Linked DNA regions of Homo sapiens: all the other regions are linked to region 2. The links are contacts of gene promoters, found by promoter capture Hi-C in blood cells and fetal thymus (Javierre and others, 2016). All regions are on one chromosome and are shown on one strand. The core of a region is centred on a gene start or on the middle of the fragment in contact, and the rest is flanking DNA. Distances in the headings are between cores, read along the strand shown. Region 1 has its middle 18 kb from the start of MIR107. Region 2 holds the start of IFIT5 (interferon induced protein with tetratricopeptide repeats 5). Region 3 has its middle 2.9 kb from the start of CH25H. Region 4 has its middle 21 kb from the start of LIPA. Region 5 overlaps LIPA (lipase A, lysosomal acid type).

Evidence for each region. Contacts are between HindIII fragments. The CHiCAGO score rates a contact against its expected background, and 5 or more counts as called.
Region 1: a contact is called between a fragment that was not itself captured here and the fragment with the promoter of IFIT5 in region 2, in 4 of 17 cell types (megakaryocytes, M0 macrophages, M1 macrophages and 1 more). The highest score is 8.2, in megakaryocytes.
Region 3: a fragment that was not itself captured here is called in contact with the fragment with the promoter of IFIT5 in region 2 in 1 of 17 cell types (neutrophils); the score reaches 7.5 in neutrophils.
Region 4: a fragment that was not itself captured here is called in contact with the fragment with the promoter of IFIT5 in region 2 in 5 of 17 cell types (erythroblasts, neutrophils, megakaryocytes and 2 more); the score reaches 7.2 in erythroblasts.
Region 5: a contact is called between a fragment that was not itself captured here and the fragment with the promoter of IFIT5 in region 2, in 1 of 17 cell types (erythroblasts). The highest score is 5.7, in erythroblasts.

Annotation. Positions count from the first base shown.
Region 1 is chr10:89,573,566-89,576,322 of GRCh38, forward strand. No RefSeq gene overlaps it. Among named protein-coding and RNA genes, the nearest start is that of MIR107, 18 kb to the right of the region's middle. The HindIII fragment of the contact is 188 bases long and covers 1,336-1,523 here.
Region 2 is chr10:89,413,241-89,416,134 of GRCh38, forward strand. It overlaps IFIT5 (interferon induced protein with tetratricopeptide repeats 5), which reads left to right and starts at 1,328. Exons shown (of 2, transcript NM_012420.3): 1 at 1,328-1,563. The coding sequence starts at 1,559. It also overlaps a transcript of LIPA not described here. RefSeq lists enhancers at 1,185-1,494, 2,105-2,204, 2,305-2,374. The HindIII fragment of the contact is 3,334 bases long and covers 1,296-2,894 here.
Region 3 is chr10:89,208,787-89,211,681 of GRCh38, forward strand. No RefSeq gene overlaps it. Among named protein-coding and RNA genes, the nearest start is that of CH25H, 2.9 kb to the left of the region's middle. The HindIII fragment of the contact is 3,077 bases long and covers 1-2,895 here.
Region 4 is chr10:89,271,228-89,273,927 of GRCh38, forward strand. It overlaps a transcript of LIPA not described here. Among named protein-coding and RNA genes, the nearest start is that of LIPA, 21 kb to the left of the region's middle. The HindIII fragment of the contact is 5,893 bases long and covers 1-2,700 here.
Region 5 is chr10:89,228,345-89,231,125 of GRCh38, forward strand. LIPA (lipase A, lysosomal acid type) reads right to left here. Exons shown (of 10, transcript NM_000235.4): 4 at 1-54. Among named protein-coding and RNA genes, the nearest start is that of LIPA, 22 kb to the right of the region's middle. The HindIII fragment of the contact is 2,654 bases long and covers 92-2,745 here.

The sequences.
Region 1 (2,757 bases), core at 180-2,679, 160 kb after region 2:
ACATTTATTTAGAAGTTTAAAAATTAGAATAATAGCAAAAAGTGTAATTTTCACTTCTCAAACTTGGTAGGTTTATTTTGGGAGTGGCCTTGAACCTATTTTGCAACTACTCCTTAGTAATTAAAATGAACTTCTCCTGAGTTGAAATGCAAGATGCAGTTAATGCTTCCAAAGTCTCTTCTGCAGGACTGGATCAATGAATAAAAACTGACACTAAAACATAAGTAGCAATTATTCAATAATTAATACTAATGAATTACTAAATCTCTACATCTTAAAAGTTTGAATACCAGTGTATTTAGAATTTGTTTGGCTTCCAAAAACTATGCATGCCATGGTGTTTTATTTTAAAACTTCAAATCCTAACACTATATACCTTTTTTAAAGTGTTAATTTCTCATTTCTTTTTCTTTTTTTTCTTTTTTCTGAGACGGAGTCTTGCTCTGTCACCCAGGCTGGAGTGCAGTGGTGCGATCTCAGCTCACTGCTCCTGGGTTCACGCCATTCTCCTGTCTCAGCCTCCTGAGTAGCTGGGACTACAGGCACCCGCCACCACACCTGGCTAATTTTTTTTTGTATTTTTAGTTAGAGATGGGGTTTCACCGTGTTAGCCAGGATGGTCTCAATCTCCCGACCTCGTGATCCTCCCGCCTCGGCCTCCCAAAGTGCTGGGATTACAGGCGTGAGCCACCGCGCCAGGCAGTTAATTTCTAAGTGTGGCTATATCTTCATAAAATCTCTCTCTATGGCCATTAAAATGGATTATGCCATAGATGAAATGGTCCTTAACATTCCATGGACAAAGACCCCTACAGCTTGATTTTGCTGAGATAATCTTCATAGTTAATTAAGGACCACAGAAGACTACCATGAGCAGCTGAGGTCAGACAGGGACTGTAGAAACACAGGCTAAAGGACACGAAGAATTGTGTAATTGACTAAATGTTCAGGGCACAGCCAACAAAACTCAATTGTTCTGGACAACCACACCATTTTCTCTAGAGTTGCTGAAAGTTGTGTGGGTGGGATCTACAGATAATTGCCCCACTTCTCCATTTCATTTTGCCTGTCTAAACATTGTATAAATAACTACTTGATAAATTCAATGTTGATGTTGGCACATGAACAGACAGACAGAAAAGTGACTGCTCATTTTAAAATGTATAAAGCCAATATAAATAGTAAACAAATCTCAAAGGAGAATGCCTAAAAATGTTTAAAATTCACAATAATGTTTAATTTACCAAATTTCAACCCACTTATGGAGCTTAATTCAAAAATACTTTTGGCTTATATTTAAAATAAAGTGACATTTGACAAACTGTTCAAATATTAAGCTTAAAAATGTACTCTTCCTAAATAATAATTTTAATACAAACTCTAGATCCACAACTTGCAGGATTAACTATCTCTTCCCCAATATGCCAAAAACACGTACACATCCAAATATGCATAGAGAATATGAATGCTAGAAAAGTTTAAGAATATATCATGAAAATATATTTCATATGTCAGGATAAATAAGCTTGAGTAGTTAATGAAAAATAATTATTTTAAAGTTTAAGTTGTCTTTAAAATTAAATTTTACATATATTTTCAAGATATATGAGAAGACATACACCACCTACCTCACTATGGAATGTGGTAAAACAAACATAATTTATATCTGTGTCATGGCAGCCAAATGGCATAAATTCTTTAGATGTTGAACTTTGCTAAAATAGCAACAGCAAATTTCATGAACAAAGTGAAGTGGAAGAGAAAAGAGAAGAACAATCCAATACAAAAACTGTCTAATTCTTTCTGGTTGCCTTATAGCCTAAAAGAAAATTTTAAACTCTCCTTAAGCCATAACTGCAAAAAATTTAAAAAGAAAATCCATCTGTTAAAACAAATTACGCAAATGGTATTGAGGCTACTTGAATTTATGTCACAGTGCCCTTAGTATTAACCACACCAACTGTGGGCCACACACGTTTGACTAAATGTGCTTAGTGGTTGATTCCAGAAATGTCATAATTCAAGAAATGTACAAGGAAAAAAACTAGTGGAAAAGCAAAAGTAACAAGTGGAATATTTTACAAAATTGAAAATAATACCACACAGGTCAAAAAAAAAACATCCAATTAACATATATAATTTCAGTTTTGTGCTATATTCCAATGGTTCTTTTCAGTCTTCTAATTTACATTGCTTTTTATATATTTCATTAATATATAGGCATATGTTGGAGAAATTGCAACTTTGTTTTCAGACCCAGGCAATCAAGTCACATGAATTTGTTTCCCAGCAGATGTACATGTTATGTTTAGAATATACTATAGTCTGTTAAGTTTGCAATAGCATTGTGTTAAAAAATATAGATACCTTAATTTCAAAAATACTTTACTGCCAAAAAATGCTAATAATCATCTGAGCCTTTAGCCAGTACTAATTATTTGCTGGTAGAGGGTCTCATCTCAATGTATTTGGCTGCTGACATCAAGGTGGTGGTTGCTGAAGGTTGTGGCAATTTCTTAAAATAGGACAAAAATGAAGTTTGCCACATTTGTTGACTCTTTCTTTCACAAAAGATTTATCTGCAGCATGTGATGTCATGTGATGGCATTTTACCCACAACAGGACTTTCAAAATTGAGGTCAATCCTTTCCAACCCTGCCGATGCTTTATCACCTGAATTTATGCAATATTCTAAATCCTTTGTTGTCATTTCAACAATGTTTACAGTGTCTTCACCAGGGGTAGATTCCATCTCGA
Region 2 (2,894 bases), core at 78-2,577:
ATTAACTTATCAGTTTTTAAATTTATATTAAATTAAAAATCAGGTTCTTAATAGCCACAGGTGACCAGCAGTTTCTGTATAAGACAGTACAACTGTTAGAAGTGATTGCTTTAAATGAGGCACTCGCTTCAGGCACTAAGTTTTGAGGGGTGGGGTGCCAGAAGCTCAGTGATCAAGGTAGACAATATTTCAATGCAATATGTTTTTAAAAATTCAAAATCAGGCCAAGCATAGTGGCTCATGCCTGTAATCCCAGCATTTTGGGAGGCCACGATGGGCGGAACAATATTTAAGGTTTAGAAAAATATTTGTGCCCAGGTGTTGGAGACCAGCCTGGGCAACATGGCAAAACCCCGCCTCTACAAAAAATAAATTAATTAGCCCGACATAGTGGTGCACGCATATAGTCCCAGCCACTCAGGAGGCTGAGGTGGGAGGATCGCTTGAGCCATGAAGGTTGAGGCTGCAGTGAGCTGTCATCTCACCACTGCACTCCAACCTGAGTGACAGAGTGAGACCCTGTCTCAAAAAAAAAAAAAAAACCAAAATCAATGCAAAAGATGAATTATGGACAGGATATTGAGGTTTTGAATACAGACATTAACTCAATAAGGGTAAGGCCCGTGTCTGTTTTCTTTATTGTTATATTGACAGTACTTTGAACAAAGTCTGGCTCTTACAGTTGTTTGTCAATATTTGCTGAATGAATTCAAAGGGGACAAAATGTTTAAGGTATGGGTGTTTGACATTTTCTGCCTAGATCCCCAATACCACTCTTGTCTTTATTGGGTCCTTATTACAAAGCACCATTGGCGAAGGTATGGAAGAGAAGCAGTCTCCTACAATTGTGGGTAAGAGTGGATTTTTAAAGCTATTTGGCAATATCCGTCAAAACTTAAAATGTATATAGATTTTAGCTCCAAATTTCTCAGTTTACACCCAACAGAAATAACAGCATAGATGTATAGCATTGCAGTGTTGCTTGTTGAATCAAAAGACTGGAGTGGAAGCAGGGACTTAAGTTTCCGCCTGTAATCCCAGCACCTTGGGAGGCAGAGGCGGGCGCATCCCTTGAGATCACGACTGGGTGACACAGTGAGACGCTATCTCAAACAAACAAACAAACAAACAAACAGTTACACGGGCAGCATGCGAACTCAGCGTACTCAGGGAGGCAGATAAAAGCCGAGACCAAAGTGAAGGAGCCCAGCTGCAAATTCAACTCCGAAAGACCCTGGACTCCGCAAACGTCTGGCCGCGGCTCTTGAGCTCTTCTATTAAGTTTCGGTTTCTGAAGCTTACGTTTAGTTTCGATTTCTTAAGTTTCAGTTTCTGAGCGCTCGGCATCTGATTCAATCTCCAGTTTCCTGTTCTTGCTGGGGCTGGGGTCTCTCCTTTAACAAAGACACGCCGCGCGGCCGAGTCCAGGGGCTGCAGAGGCCTGGCGCGCGCACGCGCACGCGCACGCCCACCGCGCGGCTTCCCGCGGTCCCCGGTGCTGAGGAGAGAGCGATCCGAGGGACTGCGCCGCCCGGACGGCCTGCAGAGCGCTGCCATCATGAGGTAAGGGTTTTCCTTTGCCTCTCCTCCCAAGCCCTGCGTCGGCCTTGGTTTCAAACCGGGCTGCTTTTATTCATTTCCAGCGCAGTTCTGCGGCCTTTTCAGGGGCCGAGCCCCTCGCGCCCAGCAACCGGGCATCTGCGTTGGGGACCCTCCCCGGGCGCTCTGTCCCGGCGCGCGGCGTCTGAAGTCGGGCCTGCCGGGGAGGGTGGCCGAGTGGACGCTTCTCGGGAGTCCGGCCCCTCCCCAGCGCCTAAGAAGGCCGGTCAGGGAGGAGGAACAGGAGATGCTCCCCGGGAGCCTGTCCCATCCCTGGCGTCTGCGGTCGGGACTGTCAGGGTATGTGCCGGGCGACGCTCCCCCGGAAGGCCTGTCCACCCATCGCGACCCGACGGCTCTTCTCGGCAGCGGCGACGGTGACCGTGCTGGGTCCGCGGCCGCCGCCTCCGGGAAACTGGTCAGCGCCTGCAGAGCCCCCAGGCGCTGTTCCGGGGGCAGCTGCTACGTGCCACGGGTCTCCTTAGGCCTGTCGCGTGCCTCTCTTTCCAGCTGCCATTCCCTCGGTGTGGCATACGCGGTTTCGCCGCAGCCCTGCAGGCGTCAGGTTCGCCTGCCACTGCCAGTTTGCGTTTCTGATTTCTGGGTCTGAGTTCTTCCCTTCCCAGGAGCTACCTCTGTACCAAGCACAGATTGTTATCGTCCCACCCAATCCGCTGTTTTATGAGGATTTCTTTATCTGTTTCCTTTACTGATTTAGTATGATGGCGTCCTTTTCTTGATCATTTTGTATCCCCAGGGGCTAGCACCCCGCCCTGCACGTGGTTAGTGAACCTTCCGCATTTAATGAGTTGAGGAATGAGATGTTAAGGTCTTGGGCTCTAAAAGCAGATAGTCCCTTGTTCTAAATCCGGACTGAACTCCTACTAGTTGAGTGATCCCAAAGTTTCTCAAACTCTGTGAGTCTGTTCCTTATTTGTAAAAATTAATGGTGTCCATCTCTTGGGACTGTGGAAAAGGACAGTAATAAATCCTATCAGTTGACTGCTTAGCACATAATACTTGCACAATAAATGTTAATTATTCCCATTATAAGTTTAAAAAAAAAGTTTAAGTGCCACCCACACATCTAACTTTATTTTTGAGACGGAGTCTCGCCCTGTCACCCAGGCTGTAGTGTAATGGCTCCATCTCGGCTCACTGCAACCTCCGCCTCCCGGGTTCAAGCCATTCCCCTGCCTCAGCTTCCCGTGTAGCTGGGATTACAGGCGTGTGCCACCACGCCTGGCTAATTTTTTGTATCTTTAGTAGAGACGCGGGTTTCACCATGTTGACCG
Region 3 (2,895 bases), core at 219-2,718, 200 kb before region 2:
TCTACCGTGTAAAGCCCACCTACTAGGTGCCACGCATTGGCTAAATGTTTTATCTGAATTGATTTTATCCAATCCTCAAAAAAGCTGGCTTCCTCACCCTGCCAAGAAGTAGGATTATTATTATTGCTGTGGGTTTACAGCAGTAAAATCATAGGTCCTAGCACACAGCAAACACACCAAGTAATATGCATGGTATTTTAAATTTGTACTCCACACGTTACCTAAAGAATAACTGAGAAATTTGAAATTAAAATCAAGTAAGATTATGTAAAGAGAAATAAAAGATATAACGCCATCTATTATGAGGAAAGAACAAGTACTACAAAAATATGGACCAATATATGGGCCTAAAACTAAGATCATATATGGTATATATGCATACATATGATATATATAATATGCCAATTCATAATATGTAATATATAAGATATAGATACATATAATAGGCCAATTTGTAATTCAGAATCTCCTAACTGGTGTGTGTCCACTAACTGCCACTGATGGAATACTGACATTCCTTAGATGCTCATTCCCAGGAGCCCTCAGCAGTAGCCTCTAGCCCTACAGCAGCCTTTTTATTTAACCCAGGGTACTATGAAAACATTATTATATTCTGCTGACATATTTGCTGTTGATGAGATAAAGGTTCAGAAGCAGTGTTGAGTTTCTTGACAGCCAATACAAAAAGGGAACAAGGGTGAATTTTTCTAATGCTGCTGCTTTGATTTCTAGATGATAGCAGAAAATAGGTATAATGTAGGCCCCTAGTTGCTTCCAGTTAAACAACCTGTCCTTCCAAGGCTCTCCACCTCTACCGCCCATGCGCCCCCACCCCCCACAACATCTCCTCCCTTCCCCAGTGTTGTTTTCACTTCACTTTTAGGGTAAACCAGAAACTTTTCTTCTCATTCCGGCTAGACGTGGTCTTGTCCTTGATGCAGTGTTTCAGAGAAGAGCGTCCTTCTCACTGCTCCAAACGGACCATTAGAGCTCACTTTCTCAACATTAAAATTGGATTTCTGCTCATAAGTAAAATATCACTCAAATTTACCCTCAACAGAAGTTAGCCCTCAAATTTCCTTTCAGCACACATTGTCCTTTTCTTGTGGTCTCAGTTATCATGCTTGGGTGCTCTGGTTGCGAGAGCAAGAAAGATTTTTTTTTTAAGTGAGTGGCATTAGCAGGTTTGCTTAATTTGGATTTAGCTGCTAGATTTGCTGTCAAGACTGTCTCCTTTGAGTCCCCAGCCCCAACCAACCCATTCATTTTCTGCTTTGGTGTATCCACCGTCTATCGCTGTTAGAATAATGTCCATGTGCCAATTACAGAAGGCCGTGGGCAGCAAAACTTGAGAGCGCTGGCTTCAGCCTGCTTTGTCCATACTCTCCCCCGTGACTTTGTGGCACTTTGAAGGATAGCAACTAGCTTCTCTGCCATCTCTGCACTTGCAGCTGACCAGGACAGAAGTTTTTGTCTAACATACAAATGCAACCATCCCAGGGAAATTGATGAATTACAGTCCTGTTAGTTCTCCACTCTATATCATGTGGAATGCTGAACAATATGTCAGGTAACCAAAAACAGCATCACTTAATGGACCAAAATAAAATTGAACACTATCAAGTGCTGACTAAGGTGGTATCATTTCTTGAATTTGGCACATGCGCACCTTTAAACAGTTTTTATTTGCACAAAAATGTAATAGCTTGCTAGATGAATAGGTCTTTTTAGAGCACAGGGTGTATCTTCTAGGACTTCTTCTCACAGTGCCAAGCATTGCATCTTGTATGTAATGAGTGTTCAAAAGATATTTGTGGACTCAAGATTCATTTTAAAGGACATTAGCTCTAAATTGAGGCTAAAAAACAAATCTTTTTTTTTTTTCTGGAGTACTGCTTGATGTAGTTTGGATCTACCCACCTGTAAAGATGGTTTTCCCTAAAACGGGGTGTTTTCTGATTAGAACTTTGGCCACACCATTTCTTGTCCAATTGATGGTTTTCCGCAAAAGGGGGTGTTTTCTGACAGGTAGCATTAGAACTTTGGCCACGCCATCTCTTCTCCAGTTGATCATGGCTTCCTGCATATGGTTTTTATCTTAGTATGGTTTTTCTGGCGGAGTTGGAGGACAGGAATCTTTTATTTTCTGCTTATCACAGGGGTCAAATCACTTTTCTGAGAGTACAACAGTCAAGTTTGTGCACACTCATCACAATCTCAAAGTTATGTGGCACCAACTTACCAAAAGACTGTGGATGCTGCTCCCCTTCCCCCAGCAAATAGAACATGTAGTTAGCAAAGCCTGCCATCAATCACATAATCCCTTTTTTAAATGACCTTTATGAATTTCTTTTTCTTTCTCAAATTAGGTAAGGCCATTTGGGCATCTGTTTAATCAAAACTGTTCCTGGCTATTAGAGATGTGTAGTGTTGTGTAACAGGGAAGACTCATAGAGGTGGAATGATCTCGAATATCAAAATCTAATCCTTCATTTTAAAGACTGAAGATTAAAAATTCAGTCTCAGAAAAGTCAAGACAAGGCTAGCTAGGGATAAAAAGCAAGTTACAGCCAAACTGAGCAGAAAAGGGCCAGGGTTGGTTCCAAGGTAAGTATCTCTTCAGGAGGAGTTTGGTATTGGAAGGGGTCATTGAAGCTGCTTTTATGTGACACTTTACAAAAGACTCAGAAAACATTAATTAGCCGTGCCAAAAACAATAGGAGATGCTGATAAAGAACATGGGGATGTTAGCTTCCTCCAGACACTCTCCTGATGCTCCTATTAGTCCAAATACTGGTGCATATTTGGTTTTAAACACTTTCTATTCTGATCCACTTACATGTCGCATTTAAGTGGGCGCTTCTACTCACTTATACTGTTGAAACTCTCATCAAC
Region 4 (2,700 bases), core at 100-2,599, 140 kb before region 2:
TCACCCAAAAATGGCCAATGCAGTACTCCTGTCACATTTAGGGATGATTCTGAAGGACAGTGGTTATGGGACATTCCCCCAGTGGAAAGAGCTTTGAACGGTTCACCTGGATGTTCATTGTTCCTAGAAGGAGAGATGACCAGAGTGATGGATTTACATTGATTTGTAGCTTCATTAACCTGGAAAGTAAAACTGTCCCCAGCCACTTTGTACTCCTTATGCTAATTAACCAGCAGGCTTAAAAAAGGTGATTATTGTTCTGATGGGTGATTTATCCTGGCTATGAAGGGAAAATGGGGTTGCTACCACACAGTGAGGGTAAGGAGGAGTATGGTGGCTTGCAGGAGGTCTTCTGGGGTGCCTCTTTGTATTTCCATATCCTGAAATCAATATTAAAATGAAAACAATTCAATGCAGTGAGGACTGCTAATGGCAGTGACCCTTTAAGAATGAAGGTATGGGACAGCTCACCAGATAAGGAGTCATGACAAGAACCAGTGTTTGCCAAGGGCAAGTGTAATATGGAACAGGTGGTAAAAGAAGGAAGTCATAGGCTGGGCTCAGTGGCTTACGCTTGTAATCCCAACAGTTTGGGAGGCCAAAGCCGGCAGATCATTTGAGCCTCAGGGGTTTGAGACCAGCCTGGACAACATATCAAAACCCCAACTCTACAAAAAAAAAAACCCACAAAAACTAACCAGATACATTGTCACGCACCTGTAGTCTCAGCTACTCAGGAGGCTGCAGTGGGAGGATCACTTGTGCCTGGTAGGCTGAGGCTGCAGTGAGCCAAGATTGCACCACTGCACTCCAGCCTGGGCACACAGAGTGAGACTCTGTCTTAAAAAAAAAAAATTTAAAAAAAACTTTTGTTTTAAGCTCAGGGGCACATATGCACAATGTTCAGGTTTGTTACATAGGTAAATGTGTGTTATGGGGGTTGATTGTACAGATTCTTTCACCATCCAGGTATTAAGCGTAGTACCCATTAGTTATTTTTCCTGATCCTCTCCCTCCTCCCACCCCCTGCCCTCCAGTAAGCTCCAATGTGCATTGTTCCCCTCTATGTGTCCATGTGTTCTCATCATTTAGCTCCCTCTTATAAGTGAGAACATGCGGTATTTGGTTTTCTGTTCCTGTGTTAGTTTGCTAAGGATAATGGCCTCCAGCTCCATCCTTGTCCCTGCAAAAGACATGATCACATTCCTTTTTATTGCTGCGTAGTATTCCATAGTGTATGTGTACAACATTTTCTTTATCTAATCTATCATAGGGGCATTTAGGTTGATTCCATGTCTTTTCTATTGTGAATAGTGCTGCAATGAACATATACGTGCATGTGTCTTTATAATAGAATGATTTATACTCCTCTGGGTACATACCCGGTAATGGGATTGTTGGGTTGAATGGTATTTCTGCCTTTAGGTCTTTGGGGAATCACCACACTGTCTTCCACAATGGCTGAACTAATTTACACTCCCACCAACAGTGTAAAAGTGTTCCTTTCTCTCTACAACCTCGCCAGCATCTATTATTTTTGGACGTTTTATTAACAGCCATTGTGACTGGCGTGAGATGATATTTCATTGTGGTTTTAATTTGCATTTCTCTAATGAACAGTAATGTTGAGCTTTTTTCACTTGATTGTTGTCTGCATGTATGTCTTCTTTTGAGAAGTGTTTGTTCATGTCCTTTGCCCACTTTTTAATGGAGTTGTTTTTTTCTTATAAATGTGTTCCTTACAGATGCTGGATATTAGACCTTTGTCAGCTGCATAGATTGCAAAAAGTTTCTCCCATTCTGTAGGTTGTCTGGTCACTCTGAAGATAGGTAAAAGAAAGAAGTTATAAACACTAGCTACAACCTTGTGCCCTGTCTTAGAAATGAAGACTAAACAGTTAACATCAGAATTCCTCTTTTGGTGGAGGGGAGGGAAGCATAAGGAATTCCTTTCTATTTTTCTCTTTGTTTTTTGTAAAAGAAATTAACTTGATACATTTTCTAGAGTCAGAGTAGAACATATTGTCCCTCATTATAGGAGGAAGATGAGAGGATGAGCTGAGTGTCCTCTGGAAAAATGGAAATGGAGTCAGAGGTAGGGGTTGCTGGATGAGCCAGAGGAAGCATTTGTGGCACTATGTGTGACTGTTTTGGGGGTACTGGGAAGTTAATATCACATCTGGATCAACACAAGTGGCATAAACACAGTGTCAATGTAGCAGGAGCTCAGGAGACCAGGAGCACTGGAACCCAATTTACCTAGGCTTCTGTAAAGCATCAACAAAGGCTCTGAGAAAACAGAGCTGATGGTTAAGAACATTTTGACACCCTGGAAAGTGTTGTGCTGAGAAAAATATTGTGAATTGGGGAGCTGTGAGGAGCCTGCTAGGGAAAGAAGAATCACAACTGACAGGACAGTACTCATAATCTAGTCAAAGGTTTTAGCCGATGTAAAGACAGATAACATGTGTGGGTATTCATTGAGATATTCCTGAGCTGTAGGTCATTTACAGCAAGAAGGCAGATTTGAAATAAAACCAGGTATTTTATTGGGCCTCATTTCTTCAAGATGCTCTGTGAACATGAAGAATTCATAGGGCCAGAGAGCAAAGGTTAACACACTACAGCTCGTGGGCTGAAACCAGTCTGCCACCTGTTTTTGTAAATAAAGTTTTATTGGAATTTGTATTGTCTATGACT
Region 5 (2,781 bases), core at 169-2,668, 180 kb before region 2:
AGTTACTAGAATCTGCCAGCAAGCCATGTTGCAGGAAGACAACTGGTTTGGGACCTGAAAAACATTCATTGTTTAGGAGGCAGTAGCACCAAGCTTCAAAACAAATATGATATCTTGCTAAATAGAACATTCGTAAAAGATCCATAAGCAAATAATGAACTAGAAATAAATTGAAAGATTGACATAGTGATGTACTCACATATAATGTTAGTAAAGAATTTTTTTAAAACAGCACTGGCAAGGTAGCAGTGAAACTGGACCATTTTTTGCATGTCCACTAACAAGACACACTTATGTAAGCAGCAAAAACAAAAATCAATATATTTTTAAGAAATTATAAAATGTTTTTACAATTTTTTTCTTATAAAATGTTTTTACAATTTGCTTTCGTAATTGCATTTCTCACAATAATTCCTAACAAAATAAACAAAAGGAAAGAAAAAGATCACACATAATGAGACATCACTATACACGTATCAGAATGAGCAACATCCAAAAACGCTGAAAACACCAACTGCTGAAGAGGATGTGGAGGAACAGGAACTCTCATTCATTGCTGGTGGAAATGCAAACTGGTAGCACCACACTGGAAAAGTTTGGCAGTTTCTTACAAAACTAAACATACTCTTACCATATAATCCAGCAATCACATTCCTTGGTATTTTACCCAAAGGAGTTGAAAACTTACATCTACACAAAAACCTGCATACAGATGTCTATAGTAGTTTTACTCATAATTGCCAAAATTTAGAAGCAACCAAGATGTGCTCCAGTAAATGAATGCATAACTAAACTGTGCTACATCCAGACAATGGAGTATTACTCAGCCCTAAAAGGAAATGAGCTATCAAGCCACAAAAAGATGTAGAGGAACCTTAAATACATATTACCAAGATCTGTAAAGGCTGCATTCTATATGACATGCTGGAAAAGACAAAACTATAGAGAGAGTAAAAAAGATCCTGGTTGCCAGGGGTTAGGAGGGAGGAAGGAATTCATAGACAGAGTAAAGAGGATTTTTCAGGGCAGTAAGACTACTCTGCATGATACTATAGAGGTAGACACATGCCATCATACATTTGTCCAAAACTATAGAATATACAACATCAAGAGTGAACTGTAGTGGCCGGGTGTGGTGGTTCATGCCTGCAATCCCAGCACTTTGGGAGGCTGAGGCGAGTGGATCACTTGAGGTCAGTAGTTCGAGACTAGCCTGGCCAACATGGCGAAACCCTGTCTCTACTAAAAATACAAAAAAGGTAGCTGGGTGTGGTGCCCCACACCTGTAATCCCAGCTATTCAGGAAGCTGAGGCAGGAGAATTGCTTGAACCCGGGAGGCAGAGGTTGCAGTGAGCCAAGATTGCACTGCTGCACTCCAGCCTAGGGGACAGAGGGAGACTCAGTCTCAAAAAAAAAAAAAAAAGGGAACCCTAATGTAAACTACGGACTTTGTGTGAATGTAGGTTCATCAGCTGTAACAATTACAATTCCACTCTGTGAGGGATGTTCATAACAGGGGAGTGTGGGGGCAGAGGGTGTATGGGAAATCTCTGTACCTTCCACTCAATTTTGCTATGAACTTAAAACTGCTTTAAAAAATAAAATTTAATAAAAATTTTTAAAGCTGAATAAAAGTTAAATAGATAAAAAGGCTCACACACACAAATTCATAAATATATGTGTCTGTGTCTGCCTGTGAGAATTTATTTTCTACTCACCTGTACCCGAGACAGTGATATAGCAGAAAAAACAAAGATGTGGGAGCCAAAGAAACCTGACCTCAAGCTGCTTACCTAACGCTGAGACCATTCAGTTATTCATGAAACAAGCCTTTATTGAGTACCAACTATGTGCCAGGCCTTCTTCTCAGCACTGAGAACACAGCAGAGAACAAAAACAAGAGGAAAAAAAGTACCTCCATGGAGCTGACATTATACTGACCATGAGTTTTATCCACTTATTTGATTGATTGATTGATTGAGATAGGATGTTGCTCTGTGACCCAGGATGGAGTGCAGTGGCGTGATCTCTGCTCACAGCAACCTCCACCTTCTGGGCTCAAGTGATCCTTCCATCTCAACCTCCTGAGTAGTTGGGATTTCAGGCGTGCACCAACACACCCAGCTAATTTTTGTGTTTTTTGTAGAGACAGTGTTTCACCATGTTCCCAGGCTGGTCTCAAACTCCTGGACTCAAGCGATCCACCCACCTCGGCTTCCCAAAGTGCGGGGTTTACAGGTGTGAGCCACCACGCCCAGCCCGATCATGAGTTTTAGACAGCTCAAACAAACCTAGGCTCAACTCTGTCCTCTCCAAGTTCTAACATGACACCTTGGGGAAACATCTCCTAAAATTAATATAATTCCCTGAAGAGTAGAAATGATAATACACATTTTATAGGACACAGTGAGATATGAGATATTATATGAAAAGTAGGTAGCAAAGAGTCTGACACACAGTAAGAGTTCACTATATATCAACTCATACTATTAAGTTGCTTAACCAGTCTGCGTCTCAGTTCCAAAAATAATTGTTAAGAGGAATAAGTGAGGTAAGTATCCAGTATAGTGACTGACACACGGGTCACAGTGAACAAATGAGAGCTTCCTTTGCCCTCTGCTCATTCTTTATAACAGTGAAAAACTGGAAATAAGCTAATTGTCAAGTGGTCAAATAATTCATTGAAATCCACTTGGTATAATAATTATCCATCAACCATGACAAGGACAGTGACAGCATAGAAAAGCTTATACCTTGCAAAGGAAAAAAAAGCAAAATAC